Linked DNA regions of Homo sapiens: region 1 is linked to region 2. The links are contacts of gene promoters, found by promoter capture Hi-C in blood cells and fetal thymus (Javierre and others, 2016). All regions are on one chromosome and are shown on one strand. Each heading gives the region's core, a stretch centred on a gene start or on the middle of the fragment in contact. The rest is flanking DNA. Distances are from core to core; before and after follow the strand shown.

Region 1 (6,828 bases), core at 1,220-3,719, about 11 Mb after region 2:
GATCTTGCCACTGCACTCCAGCCTGGGCGACAGGGTGAGACTCCATCTCAAAAAAAAGAAAACCCCCCAAAAAATACTATGATTTTCTCTTTTTGTTTTTTTGAGACGGTGTCTCACTTTGTCCCCCAGACTAGAGTGCAGTGGCGCAATCTCAGCTCACTTCAACCTCCGCCTCCCAGGTTCCAGCAATTCTCCCGCCTCAGCCTCCCAAGTAGCTGGGATTACAGGCATGTACCACCACGCCCCAGCTAATTTTTGTATTTTTAGTAGAGACGGGGTTTTACCATCTTAGCCAGGCGGTCTCGAACTCCTGACCCCCAAGTGAGCCACCCGCCTCAGCCTCCCAAAGTGTTGGGATTACAGGCGTGAGCCACTGCACCCAGCCTGATGTTCTCCTAAGAGTGTACGGTGGGGCCGGGCGCGGTGGCGCACGCCTGCAATCCCAGCACTTTGGGAAAATCACCTGAGGCCAGGAGTTGGGGACCAGCCTGGCCAACATGGCAAAATCCCGTCTCTACAAAAAATACAAAAACTAGCCAGGTGTGATGGCATGCACCTATAATCCCAGCTACACAGGAGGCTGAGGCACGAGAACTGCTTGAACCCGGGAGGTGGAGGTTGCAGTGAGCAGAGATCACGCCACTGCACTCCAGCCTAGGCGACAGAGCAAGGCTCCATCTCAAATAAATAAATAAATAAAAGAAGGTAATCTGAGTCATGTTCTTATGAGATTCCTCTGGCCCCTGAGAAAGGCAGGGATACATGGAAATGTCCTGTTCTGATGTGAGAAACAACTTTCCCCAAATCTCTGGGTCTGAGAGACCTCAGCCCCTCTGCTCAGGTGGTCCAGTTCCAAGTGTCAGCCCAGTGTCTACGGCTGTCTTTGAGGTGCCATCCTGAATTGTCACTGCCATCATAACGGTTGTCACCTGTCCTGGGACACACCCCACCTCTGTAACCTTTCTTTACTTTTCAAAGCAACATATTTTCCCAAATTACCATCTCCAAAACTCTGATAGGAGGTAAGACGGCTACTACAGGTTAAATATCCCTTTCCAGAAATGCTAGGAACCAGACCTGTTTTAGCTTTAGGAACATCTGTATTCTATTCACTGGTTGAGCATCCCTAATCTAAAAATTTGAAATCTGGAATGCTCCAATGAGCATTTCCTTAAGTGTCATGTTGACACTCAAAAACTTTTGAATTTTGGAGTATTTTGGATTAAGGCTGCTCAACGTGTGCTACTGGTCCCATTCTGCAGATGTGAAAACGAAGGCACAGAGATGTTAGGGGATCTGCCTCAACTCCCAGCCTGTCTGTGGAACTTTTTTTTTTTTTTTTTTTTTTTTGAGATGGAGTCTCGCTCTCTCACCCAGGCTAGAGTACAGTGGTGCGATCTTGGCTCACTGCAACCTCCGTATCCTGGGTTCAAGCCATTCTCCTGCCTCAGCCTCCCAAGTAGCTGGGACTACAGGTGCCCACCACCACGCCTCCTCTGCTCTAAATGCTCCCATGGCTGCCCTCTCCCGTAGAGAAAAAGCCCCAGTCCTCGCCAAGACTGCAGTCCAGGCCCGACCTGCCCTGGCCCCCTGTTTTTTCTCTCATCTCCAGGCAGCCACTCAGGTCTCCTTCAGATCTTGACTCTAACAGAGTGATGTCTTCTCCAGCAACTCTATGGGATGCTGCAACCCACCCAATGGCCTCTTCTGTTTTATCTGCTCACTATAGCCGCATAAATTTCTATATGTTTATTCTTTGCCTGTCTCCTCCTATACAGCAGGTAAACTCAGGGATTTTCTAAAAATCTCCCTTTCTGCTATGTCTCCAGTGCCTAGAATAGTGCCTGGCATGTAATAAGGGCTACTCCTAAAAAGGGGTCTGAGAGAAATGTCAGCCAGCCTGGAGCTGAGCAGACAAGACTGGGCTGAAAATACACATTTGGGGGTCGCTGGAGATTATAAAGAGATTATAATCGAAGTCATGGGAAGGGATGGAACTACTCCTGTTTTTTTTGCCAAATTCTCCATGTTACTATTTGAGGGCGAGAGAAATCCCGGGTATTCCATATACACTGTTAAAACTAGGCTGTCACTAAGCCCCTCTCCTTTGGATCATCTGGAATGGGGGGACCCATTCCCCCATTCCAGATGATCCATCCCACCCCTCTGGGATCCCCACCCGAGAGTCCTGAAGGCAGGGCACAGGCCGCCCTGGGAAATCTCCGAAATCCAGCCCCGGTCCGGGGATGTCTTACCCTCCAGTTCCAGCTGCACGGGGGGCGGCTCGGGGGGGCCCTTCGAGGGTCCGGGGCCCGCCTGCTGGCGCCCCTTGATGTTGTAGCGCCGGCGCAGCTTCCCCATGGCGACTAGGCCAGGGTGGGCGCTCCAGCGGCCGGACCAGCAGAGCAATCCGAAACCCAGCCCACGTGGGTTCCCAGACCACCAACTCCGGCCGTGAGACTTCCGGGTTGTGTTATCGCGAGAACTGTAACTGACTTTGCCGCTGAGGGGCGGGGTTGCAAGAGAAACCCAGCGAAGAGGAGAGGCGGAGCCGGGCCGGGCAGGGGGCGGGACTATTTAGAGAAGTAGGCGGGGCCTGAGGTCCCAGCGGAGGCCGGAGTTTAAGTCCTGGGCTGTTCTCGCTTGGGGTAGTCTGGGTTTAAATATGAATTATATCTACTGATACTAATTTGGCTTCTTGGGAGTGGAAGTGTTTTGCCACCTTTTAAAATATACCCCGCCCCCAGTACTCCAAACTTCTTCCCCCCAACCCTGGTTTGCGCATCTGTATTTTCTGATATTCCTACAAGAAACGTATTAGTCGTGTACTTTTAAAAAGGCACCAAATATTTCCATCACAGGGATAGATGGAAGATCTAAAAGGAGGCCTCTACGGGCGCGGTGGCTCACGCCTGTAATCCCAGCACTTTTGGAGGCCGAGGCGGGCGGATCACGAGGTCAGGATTTCAAGACCAGCCTGGCCAAGATGGTGAAACCCCCGTCTCTACCAAAAATACAAAAAAAATTTAGCTAGGCCTGGTGGCAGGCGTCTGTAATCCCAGCTACTTGGGAGGCTGAGGCAGAGAATTGATTGAACCCGGGAGGTGGACGTTGCAGTGAGCCGAGACTGCACCACTGCACTTCAGCCTGGGCAACAGAGCTAGACTCTGTCTCAAAAAAAAAAAAATAAAGTTGTCTATTACATAACTTTAAATTCCCATTACCGCATCACATTGTAACACACTGGGAAACAATGCATTATTATTATTATTGAGACAAGGTCTGGCTTTGTTGCCCAGGCTGGAGTGTAGTGGAGCAATCTCGGCTCACTGCAACCTCTGCCTCCCGGGTTTAAACGATTCTCCTGCCTCAGCCTTCCGAGTAGCTGGGACTACAGGTGCCCGCCACCACCCCCAGCTAGTTTTTGTATTTTAGTAGAGACGGAGTTTCACCATGTTGGCCAGGCTGGTCTCAAACTCCTGACCTCGTGATCTGCCTGCCTGGGCCTCCCAAAGTGCTGGGATTACAGGCATGAGCCACCGCGCCCGACTTTTTTTTTTTTTTTTTTAAGAGATGAGATCTCGCCCTGTGGGCCAGGCCAGAGTGCAGTGGTGCAATCACCACTCGCTGCAGCCTTGACCTGTCCTCCCACCTCAGCCTCCTGAGTAGTTATGACTACAGGCACACACCACCACGACGGGCTAATTTTTCTATTTTTTTGTAGAGATGGTGTCTCCCTATGTTGCTTAGACTGGTCTCAAAATTCTGGGCTCAAGGGATCCGTTTGTCTCGGCCTCCCAAAGTGCCGGAATTACAGGCATAAGCCACTGTGAAGGCCTTAATGAATGACGTTTAAAAAAATCATAATTAGCGTATCAAATCTATGGGGTTTTTTGTTTGTTTGCTTGTTTTTGTTTTTTTGAGACAGAACTCTCCCTCTGACGCCCAGGCTGGAGTGTAGTGGAGCAGTCTCGGCTCACTGCAACCTCCACCTCTCGGGTTCAAGCGATTCTCCTGTCTCAGCCTTCCAAGTAGCTGGGATTACAGGCACCCACCAAGATGCCCATCTAATTTTTGTATTTTTAGTAGAGATGGGGTCTCACCATGTTGGCCAGGATGGTCTCAAACTCCTGACATCAAGTGATCGGCCCACCTTGGCCTCTCAAAATGATGAGATTACGGGCCTGAGCCACTGCACCCAGGCTCAAATCTGTGTTTTTATGGATTTTGTTGCTCAGGATGATAGTGATCTAAAGTTTCTTCTTTAAATATGTTTATTTAAATAAATTAAAAGTTTAAGAAACGTTTAAAAAATGTTAAGTAGGTAGTAGTACACTTGCCTATATTTCCTTCTAAAATATAATATATCAGTGAATTACCTTCCAGAAGGTATAGACCATTCTAGACAGCAAGAAGAAGGCAGATACATAACAGCATGGATGGATCTCACAAATATAAAGTTGAACAAAAGCTGGGCGTGGTGGCTCACGCCTGTAATTCCAGCACTTTGGGAGGCCAAGGCAGGCGGATCACCTGAGGTCAGGAGTTTGAGACCAGCCTGGCCAACATGGCGAAACCTGTCTCCACTAAAAATACAAACATTAGCCGGGTGTGGTGGCGCGTGCCTATAGTCCCAGCTACACGGAAGGCTGAGGCAGGAGAATCGCTTGAACCCCGGAGGCGGAGGTTGCAGTGAGCCGAGATCATGCCACTGCACTCCAGCCTGGGCAACAGAGCAAGACTCCGTCTCAAAAAATAAAAAATAAATAAAAAAAAAAGTTGAACAAAAGAAGCCAACCCCCAGAGTACTGTGTGGTTCATTTACATAAACTTCAAACACAGGCAAATGAATCCCCTAAATTTTAAGAGGAACATAGTGAATGGGAGGGGACAAAGGGAGGCTTCGTGGGGGAACTGGTAATGTTTCGTTTCTTGATTTGGGTGCTGGTTACCTTGGGTATTCAGTTTGTGAAAATTCATAAAAATTTATATGATTGTGTATTTTTCTGTATGTTATACCTTAATTAAAAAGTTTATTATTATTATTATTATTATCATTTTTTATAGAGATAGGTTTCACTATGTTGGCCAGGCTGGCCTCGAACTCCTGTGTTCAAGCAATCCTCCTGCCTTGGCCTCCCAAAACAAGCTTGTGCCACTACACCTGGCGTAAAAAAAGGTTTTTGTTTTGTTTTGTTTTGTTTTTGGGACGGAGTTTCACTCTTGTTGCCCAGGCTGGAGTGCAGTGGCTTAGTCTCGGCTCACTGCAACCTCCGCCTCCCAGGTTTAGGCGGTTGTCCTGCCTCAGCCTCCCGAGTAGCTGGGATCACAAGCAGGCACCACCATAACTGGCTCATTTTGGATTTTTTTTTTTTTTTTTTTTTTTTTTTGAGACGGAGTCTCGCTCTGTCGCCCAGGCTGGAGTGCAGTGGCACGATCTCGGCTCACTGCAACTTCCGCCTCCCGGGTTCACGCCATTCTTCTGCCTCAGGCTCTGAGTAGCTGGGACTACGGCGCCCGCCGCCACGCCCGGCTATTGTATTTTTAGTAGAGACGGGGTTTCACTGTGTTAGCCAGGATGGTCTCGATCTCCTGACCTCGTGATCCGCCCGCCTCGGCCTCCCAAATTGCTGACCTTGTGATCCGCCCGCCTCGGCCTCCCAAAGTGCTGGGATTACAGGCGTGAGCCACGGCGCCTGGCCTCATTTTGTATTTTTAGTAGAGACGGAGGGATTTCTCCATGTTGGTCAAGCTGGTCTCGAACTCCCGACCTCAGGTCACCCGCCTCAGCCTCCCAAAGTGCTGGAATCACAGGCGTTAACCACCGCACCCGACCTACAAAAAAGTTTTTAAAAAGATAAACAATACAGGAAAAAATGTGCAAAGGATATGAATAGGTAATTCACAGAGAAGTAATTCAAATGGCCAATAAATCTATGAAAATCTTACTAGGAATCCAGAAAATGTAAATTCAAAAATAAGAGCATTTTGTATTCTTTGGATTGGCAAAAATTGAGTTTTATTTTCTTGGTTGTCTAAAAAAAATGTTGGTTAGACTTGATTTGTTTGATTTAGGATGCAAACAGGGTCCTTGCATTGCATGGGTTATTATGGCTCTTAAGTCTTTAAAACCAATTATCCTCCTCTTCGCTCACCTTTTATACCAATTATTTATTGAACAAACTGGGTCGTTTGTTTGGTAGAATGCCCCACATGCTGGAGTTGGTTGGTTGCTTCTGCTGCTTCTAAGTTTTCCTTATCTGCCATATTTCCTGTAAACTGTAGGTTTGATCTAGAGGCCCCATCAGGTTCATGCTCAACTTGTCTTGGCAAGAATCCATCGCAGGTGGCGCTGGTACTTCCTGGCACTAAGATCGATTGGCGGGACCGGGACTTCGCGGCTTAGCCCCTCCATTTTCAAGTTCCCCGCCAAACCCTCCCCTCTTGGTTGTACCCATTTCTGATGATCATCGCGTGAATCCATCATTCTATTGAGGGGTGCCAAATAATTTTCGGATTCTCTCATTCATCCTCATGTATTAGCTGGACTTTGTAAAAGAAAGTCCCTCCCCAACTATTTTGGGGCTCTGAAATACAGTTCATTCAGGAAGGGCAGGAGGATGCCTGATGCTTTCTTGTTATTTAAAATTTTCAGGATGAATGAGCTGATGCCCACGAGGGCGAATTTTGGGGTACCATTATAATACATTCAGGGAGATTACATATATGTCTATTTCATGTTTTTCAATCAGTTGCAGTCACTTTCCTGGTTGAAGCTGTTGCAAGTTTTACAGGCACGGGTTGCTTTTCCACGGATAAGTTAAAAAA
Region 2 (6,676 bases), core at 1-2,500:
AACTTGTCCAACATGGCGAAACCCCATGTCTCTACTAAAAATAAAAAAATTAGTCGGGCTTGGTGGCGCGTGTCTGTAGTCCCAGCTACTTGGGAGGCTGAGGCAGGAGCATCGCTAGAACCCGGGAGGCAAAAGTTGCAGTGAGCCGAGACTGCCGAGATTGCTCCACCGCAGTCCAGCCTGGGAGACAGAGCCAGACTCCGTTTAAAAAAAAAAAACAAAAAAAGAAAAAAACAAAAAACAAAACCAAAAAAAGCCATGAAAGAGAGAGAAAAAAAAGAGATAAGACAAACAATGATAAGAGAATCAACTACACTTGAAACACAACAAAGCTGAATTTGGGAGGGAAAGGAAGTGCAGCTACGCTAAAAATCCTCATCCCACAAAGCGAGGCATCAAGAGACACTGTCTAACCTGATGGAAGGAGCAGTAATCCATTTAAAAACAAAAAAACAAAACAGAACAAAAAACAGCGAGAGAGAGAAAAAAGGATGATCCATTCGAGCCCACCGCATCTAATCATCTAATATTACGTACATTCACCTATTTTGCCTACCACGTGTCGGGTTCTGCGCTGGGCTCCAGGGAAACAAAAAAGTATGGCTGGGTCACCACTCCCCACTTACTGGATAAATGCTGTAAAGCCCTTTACCCACTCCGTATTCCTACTTGCCCTAAGGATGGGAGTGGGAATTGGAACGCAGGTCCGCAGATTAATATTCCCCATGTCTTCCCCAACAGTTTCCAGACTGGGAGAGGAATATAAATACAGTGTCGGACCATGTCCCGGGTCAACAACTAAAAAACAGTGATCGAATGAAAGAGGTTGTGGGAGCAGGGTATTCGCCACAAGGTGGGAGTTGTCATCTCCCCGAGAAGAGGTGTGTTAGGAGTCAGGTACCAAACAACCGGCCGTGAAACCGTAAGCAGTCACTATTCCTCTTTCCTCGGGATCAAATGGGGATAAGCCCAGGATCCCGCCCCCTTTGAGTTCAGAATTGGCCCGGAGTCCTGCCCCAGAGCAAAAATTCTTCGATCACCTCCAGGCATCTCTTCCCTACCTCACAGCTCCCGGCTGGTCTCATTTCAGATTCCCAAGTCCTGCCTCTGCACTCACCCCATTCGGGAGATTCTTCACGATCAGTCGCGACATGGCGCAGGGTCCCCGCTGTTTTGATTCCAACACGACTGGTCAGCGTCTTCCACCAAGTTTCACGCTACCGCCCTGGGCGCCGCCATCTTTACCGAGCCGGAACACAGTCACGTGGCTGAGACCTTGGCCTGACCTGTCCGGAAGTAGGCGTGGCTAATCCAAAACTACTCAGGGAGGTCACACCCCACAAGGGGTGGGCCTGGGCGCTTGCATTTTGCGCAGGCGCAGGGCCTTGGGCGGATTCTGTGAGACGCCAATGCAGCGGAGAAGGCGGCAGGGGGCGCCGGTCCCTAACATGCGCCGGTTTAGCTCGGTGTTAAGGGTCGCGCCAACCGGGCAATCGCGTTCTCTCCTTTTTCTTATTTTATTTTTATTATTGAGCCTTAGGACTCCCCTGAGAACGGGGGCAAGATTAGGGACCCTTGCCTTCCTCGTAGAAATGGGGAAAGTGAAGTTTAGAGAGATTGCCAGCCAACACAAATCAAGTATTGAGCCTTTTGTGTAAATACTTGGAATGAACATGTTGGAAATAAACGCTCTCATTTTGCAGGCAGATAAACTGGGAATCGTGCGTGTAAAGCAGCTTGCTCAAAGTCTTATAACTATGAATTGGAAAGTCAGATTCGAGCTAGGGACTGCCTAGGGCCCTACAATGAGTCTCTACGCCTTCAACCCCAGCCCCACAAGCATTTTGCCTCCCTTCCTAATGTTTGGAACTCTCAGCTGGCCAATCTTCTAGCTGAGAGATCTTGGCCAAAATGGCCTCTGAGCCTTTGTGTCTACTTCTATAAAATGGGAATAATTCTTTATTATGCTAGGGGTTAAGGAGGTGAGAACGTGAAAGGGATGTTATTTTCCTATTGCTTCTCTGAGCATTCTCGGTACCTACTCTTGGATGGAGACATCCTATGAAAACCCCTATTTTCACTCTTAAATGACGGTATTTCCTTTCTGTTTCCCCACAGTGCCTCAGCTGCACTGGACGTTGCTGCCAAGCTTCTGCAATTTCCTTCACCTAAAAGACATTCCGTCCCCCCTTCTTATTGTTAACAGCTTTATCACAAACCATGCAATTCACCCACTTAAAGTGCACAATTCAATGGTGCTGACTATATTTACAGAGGTGTGCAGCCATCACCACAATCAATGCTAGGACATTTTCATTACCCCCAAAGAAACACCACACCCTTTAGCTATAACCTTCCAATTCCTCCCTCTCCCTTCCCTCTGATAACCACTAATCTACTTTCCGTCTCTATGGATTTGTCTGTTATGGACATTTCATGTAAATGGAATAATACAATATGTAGTCTTTTGTAATTGACTTCTTTCACTTAGCATAATGTTTTCAAAGTTCTTCCATGTTGCAGCATGAATCAGCACTTTATTTATCTGTTTATTTATTTGAGACAGGGTCGGGCTCTGTCACCCCGACTGGAGTGCAGTGGCACAATCTCAGCTCACTGCAACCTCCGCCTCCCAGGCTCAAGCCATCCTCCCACCTCAGCCTCCTGAGCAGCTGGGACTACAGGCACATGCCACCATGCCTGGCTAATTTTTTTTTTTTGGTAATTTTTTGGTAGAGGCGAGGTTTCAACATGTTGCCCAGGCTGGTCTTGAACTCCTGGGCTCAAGCAATCCACCTGCCTTGAACTTTCAAAGTGCTGGGATTACAGACGTGAGCCACCACACTTTTTTTGCTGAATAGTATTACATATATGGATGTATTACATTTTATTTATTCATCAGTTGATGATGGACATTTGGGTTGTTTCCGCTTTGTGGCTACTGTGAATAATCTTGCCGTGAACATTTACCTGTAAGTTCCTGTGTGGGCATATGTTCTTATTTCTCTTGGATATATTCCTAGGAGTAGGATTGCCTGATCATATGGTAACTCTATGCTTAACCTTTTTAGAACCTGCTAACCTGTTATCCAAAGTGGCTTCCCCATTTTATATTCCTACCAGCGGTATATGAAGGTTCAAATATCTCCACATCTCCTCCAGTGTTTGTTATTGGGTCTTTATAATCATAGCCACTCTAGTGGGTGTACAGTGGTGACTCAATGTTTTGATTTGCATTTCCCCGATAACTAATGAAACAGCATCTTTCATGTGCTTTTGGCCACTGGAATATCTTTCTGAACCCATTCCCATCCCCTCTCTAAGACCAGCTCAAACATGGCATCCTCGAATATGCCTCTTTCCTACTGAGCCCCAAATGCAGGGAGCTCATGCATCTGCCACAGCATAAACCTACAGAACTCGCTGGTGAGGAGCGCACAGTGTAGGTTCAGAGTTATAGATGAGGCCACTTGTTCTTTCTACATTATGTTGCCATAGGGGCATCCTTAGATCCATCTTTGCAAAGCATCACACTGGGCACCAGGAGGAGACAGGTAATAGGAGTTCATTAAATGCTAATTGTAAATTAAGGTCTGTCCATTCAACAGAATTCTATGCAGTTGTTAAAAAACGGTAGGTATGTAGCTATAAATGTTTTTGAAGGAAATGCATCAGTCAGCAGGACACAGAGGTATACTCAAAAGGATTTAACAAAAGCAAATCTGGACAAAAAGCTATTTACAGAAGGGTGGGCAGTGTAGTGGGATGAATGATCCCCTGTCCCCTCACCACCACACACACTGGGGGCATCCTGACCCCTGGAAGCTGTAAATGTGACTTTATTTGCAAAAAAGTGTTGTATTAGTTTGTTCTCACGCTGCTAATGAAGACATACCTGAGACTGGGTAATTTATAAAGGAAAGAGATTTAATGGACTCACAGTTCCACATGGCTGGGGAGGCCTCACAATCATGGTGGAAGAGCAAGGGATGTCTTACCTGGTGGCAGGCAAAGAGAGAATGAGAACCAAGTGAAAGGCTTTCCCCTTATAAAACCATCAGATCTCGTGAGACTTATTCACTACCACGAAAACAGTATGGGGAAACCACCCCCATAATTCAATTATCTCCCACTGGGTCCCTCCCAGGACACGTGGGGATTATGGGAGCTACAATTCAAGATGAGATTTGGTGGGGACACAGCCAAACCATATCAAGGGTCTTTGCAAATGTACTTAAGGGTCTCAAAATGAGATCATCCTGAATTATCCTGGTAGACCCTAAATCCAATGACACATGTCCTTTTAAAGGACACACAGAGAACGTCATGTGTAGGTGGAGGTAGAGTCTGGAGTGATGCAGTCACAAGTCAACGAAGACCTGGAGCCACCAGAAGCTGAAAGAAGCAAGGAAGCGTTCTCCCTTGGAGGTTTTGGAGGGAGCATGGCCCTGCTGGTGCTTTGGGGGATTCTGGCCTCCAGAAATGTGAGAGAATAACTTTGCATTGTTATGCCATCTAATTTGTGGTAATTTGAGACAGCACCTGCAGCAAATGAATACAGGAAGGGTTAAGGGAACCAACAAAGGATGGCCAAACCCCAGGGCCTGGCAACAGTGGGGAGCTATCACCACCCCTGGGGCTGAAGGGCAGAGTAGGACATGTCATTCCTGAGCTTCAGTGATGCCAGGAGCCATGGAAGAGGGACGTACTTTAAGGACTAGAGCTATAGAGAGATACAGCCACTGTGGAACCACAGGTGTGTGTGTGTCGGGGATAAATACACTGTCCCCTCTTTCTCTTCCCAACTGCAGTTTCCTACTGGAGCCTCCCCTTGGCCGAACCAATGGGAAGCTGGAGGCATGATCACAGATGTTGCAGTGCACACAGATTGCATCTGGGGCACAGAGCAAAGTGGAGGAGCAGGCTCAGGGAATGGGAGATGGGCTGTTAGAGAAGAACTAGCACATGGGACATGGGACAATCTCCAAAATATATTGTTAAGTGAAAACCAGCAATATACTAAATAATGTATTATGTATGCTTTCACTTAGGTAAAAACAAAACACACACACAAAAAAAGGAGGGAGATGGGTGAGGATACATAGATACTTGTCATGTTTGTAGGCCAGGGTAGTCGTAAATTTCCAAATGTATTGTCTTGCAGTTCTGAAGGCTAGAAGTTCGAGATGAAGGTGTTGGCAGCGCCGGTTCCTTCTGAGAGCCGTGAGGTTGAATCTGTTCCTCCCTGTCTCACTTCTGGTGGTGTGCTGGCAATCTTTGACACTCTTTGGCCTGTAGACATGTCACCCCGATCTCAGCCTTCATCTCCACATGACAGTCTCCCTGTGTCCATGAGTTCATGTTCAAACTTCCCCATTTTAAAAGACATTGGATTAAAGCTAATTCTAATGACCTCATTTTAATATAGTTACCTCTGTAAACACTCTATTTCCAAATAACATCACTTTGTGAGGTATGAAAAGTTAAGACTCCAACATAGGAATTTGGAGGGGACACTATATATGATTTATGTAAGCAAAGGCGATCTCAAAAGATACATGAGGAAGTGGTAACAGCAGTTGCTTCTGGGGAGGGGACCGAGGAAGTGAGTATACGGATGGATGGAAATGTCCTTTACCTTGAGTAACCTTTTATAATTTTGATATTTCATTATGAAAAAATTACCTATTATTTTTAATACATTAAAATGTTAATCATGTATAAACTACATCTGCATATATTTATACTTAACCATAGGGTAAAGTCAACAAGCATGTATATTAATTGTGGGCATTTCTGCAGGATGGCTTTGGAGGGGTGAAATTGTAGGGAGCCCAGTAAATCTTTATGTATTTATTTTGGGTTTTGTCTTTTTTTTTTTTTGAGACGGTAACTGGGATTATAGGTGCACACCACCGTGCCTGGCTAATTGTTTGTATTTTTATTACAGATGGGTTTCACTGTGTTGGCCAGGCTGGTCTCAAATTCCAGACCTCAAGTGATCCACCTGCCTTGGCCTCCCAAAGTGCTTGGATTACAGGCATGAGTGACTGTGTCTGGCCTTTTTTTTTTTTTTTTTTTTTTTTTTGAGACAAGGTCTTGCTCTGTTGCCCAGACTGGAGTGCTGTGGTGTGATCAGGCCTTACTGCTGCCTTGATCTCCTGAGCACAAGTGATCCTCCTTCCTCAGCCTCCGAAGTGGGTGGGACTACATGCATGCATTACCACACCCAGCTAATTTTTAAATTTTTTGTAGAGACAGGGTCTGGCTTTGTTGCCCAGGCTGGTCTCAAATTTCTGGGCTCAAGTGATCCTCTCGCTTTGGCCTCCCAAAGTGCTGGGATCACAGGTGCACGCCACCATGCCCGGTCTGTATATGTTTTAAATCAGAGATTGGCAAACTTTTTCTTAAAAAGTCAGAGAGTATTTCACTATGTGGTCTCTAATGCAACTTCTGCATCCTGCTACTGTATTTTGAACACATCCAGAGCTAACATCTGTGGCCGTGTTCCAATAAAACTTTATTTACAAAACCAGGAAGCCACCCCATGAGCTATAGTTTTAAGTTACAGGATTATGGGGTGTATTGATTTTCTAGGGCTTCTATATCAAATTACCAGAAACTGGATGGCTTCAAACAACAGAAGTGTATTCTCTTGCAGTTCTGGAGGCCAGGA

What was found. The method cuts DNA at HindIII sites, captures the fragments that hold promoters and counts their contacts. A CHiCAGO score of 5 or more calls a contact.
Region 1: the fragment with the promoter of DHX37 here is called in contact with the fragment with the promoter of RBM19 in region 2 in 1 of 17 cell types (naive CD8 T cells); the score reaches 12.3 in naive CD8 T cells.

Annotation. Positions count from the first base shown.
Region 1 is chr12:124,986,662-124,993,489 of GRCh38, forward strand. DHX37 (DEAH-box helicase 37) reads right to left here and starts at 2,470. Exons shown (of 27, transcript NM_032656.4): 1 at 2,256-2,470. The coding sequence starts at 2,361. RefSeq lists enhancers at 390-933, 5,554-6,054 and silencers at 2,174-2,383, 6,814-6,828. The HindIII fragment of the contact is 16,586 bases long and covers 1-5,147 here.
Region 2 is chr12:113,965,075-113,971,750 of GRCh38, forward strand. It overlaps RBM19 (RNA binding motif protein 19), which reads right to left and starts at 1,251. Exons shown (of 24, transcript NM_016196.4): 1 at 1,118-1,251. The coding sequence starts at 1,153. RefSeq lists enhancers at 1-601, 602-1,529, 1,488-1,557. The HindIII fragment of the contact is 5,534 bases long and covers 1-2,147 here.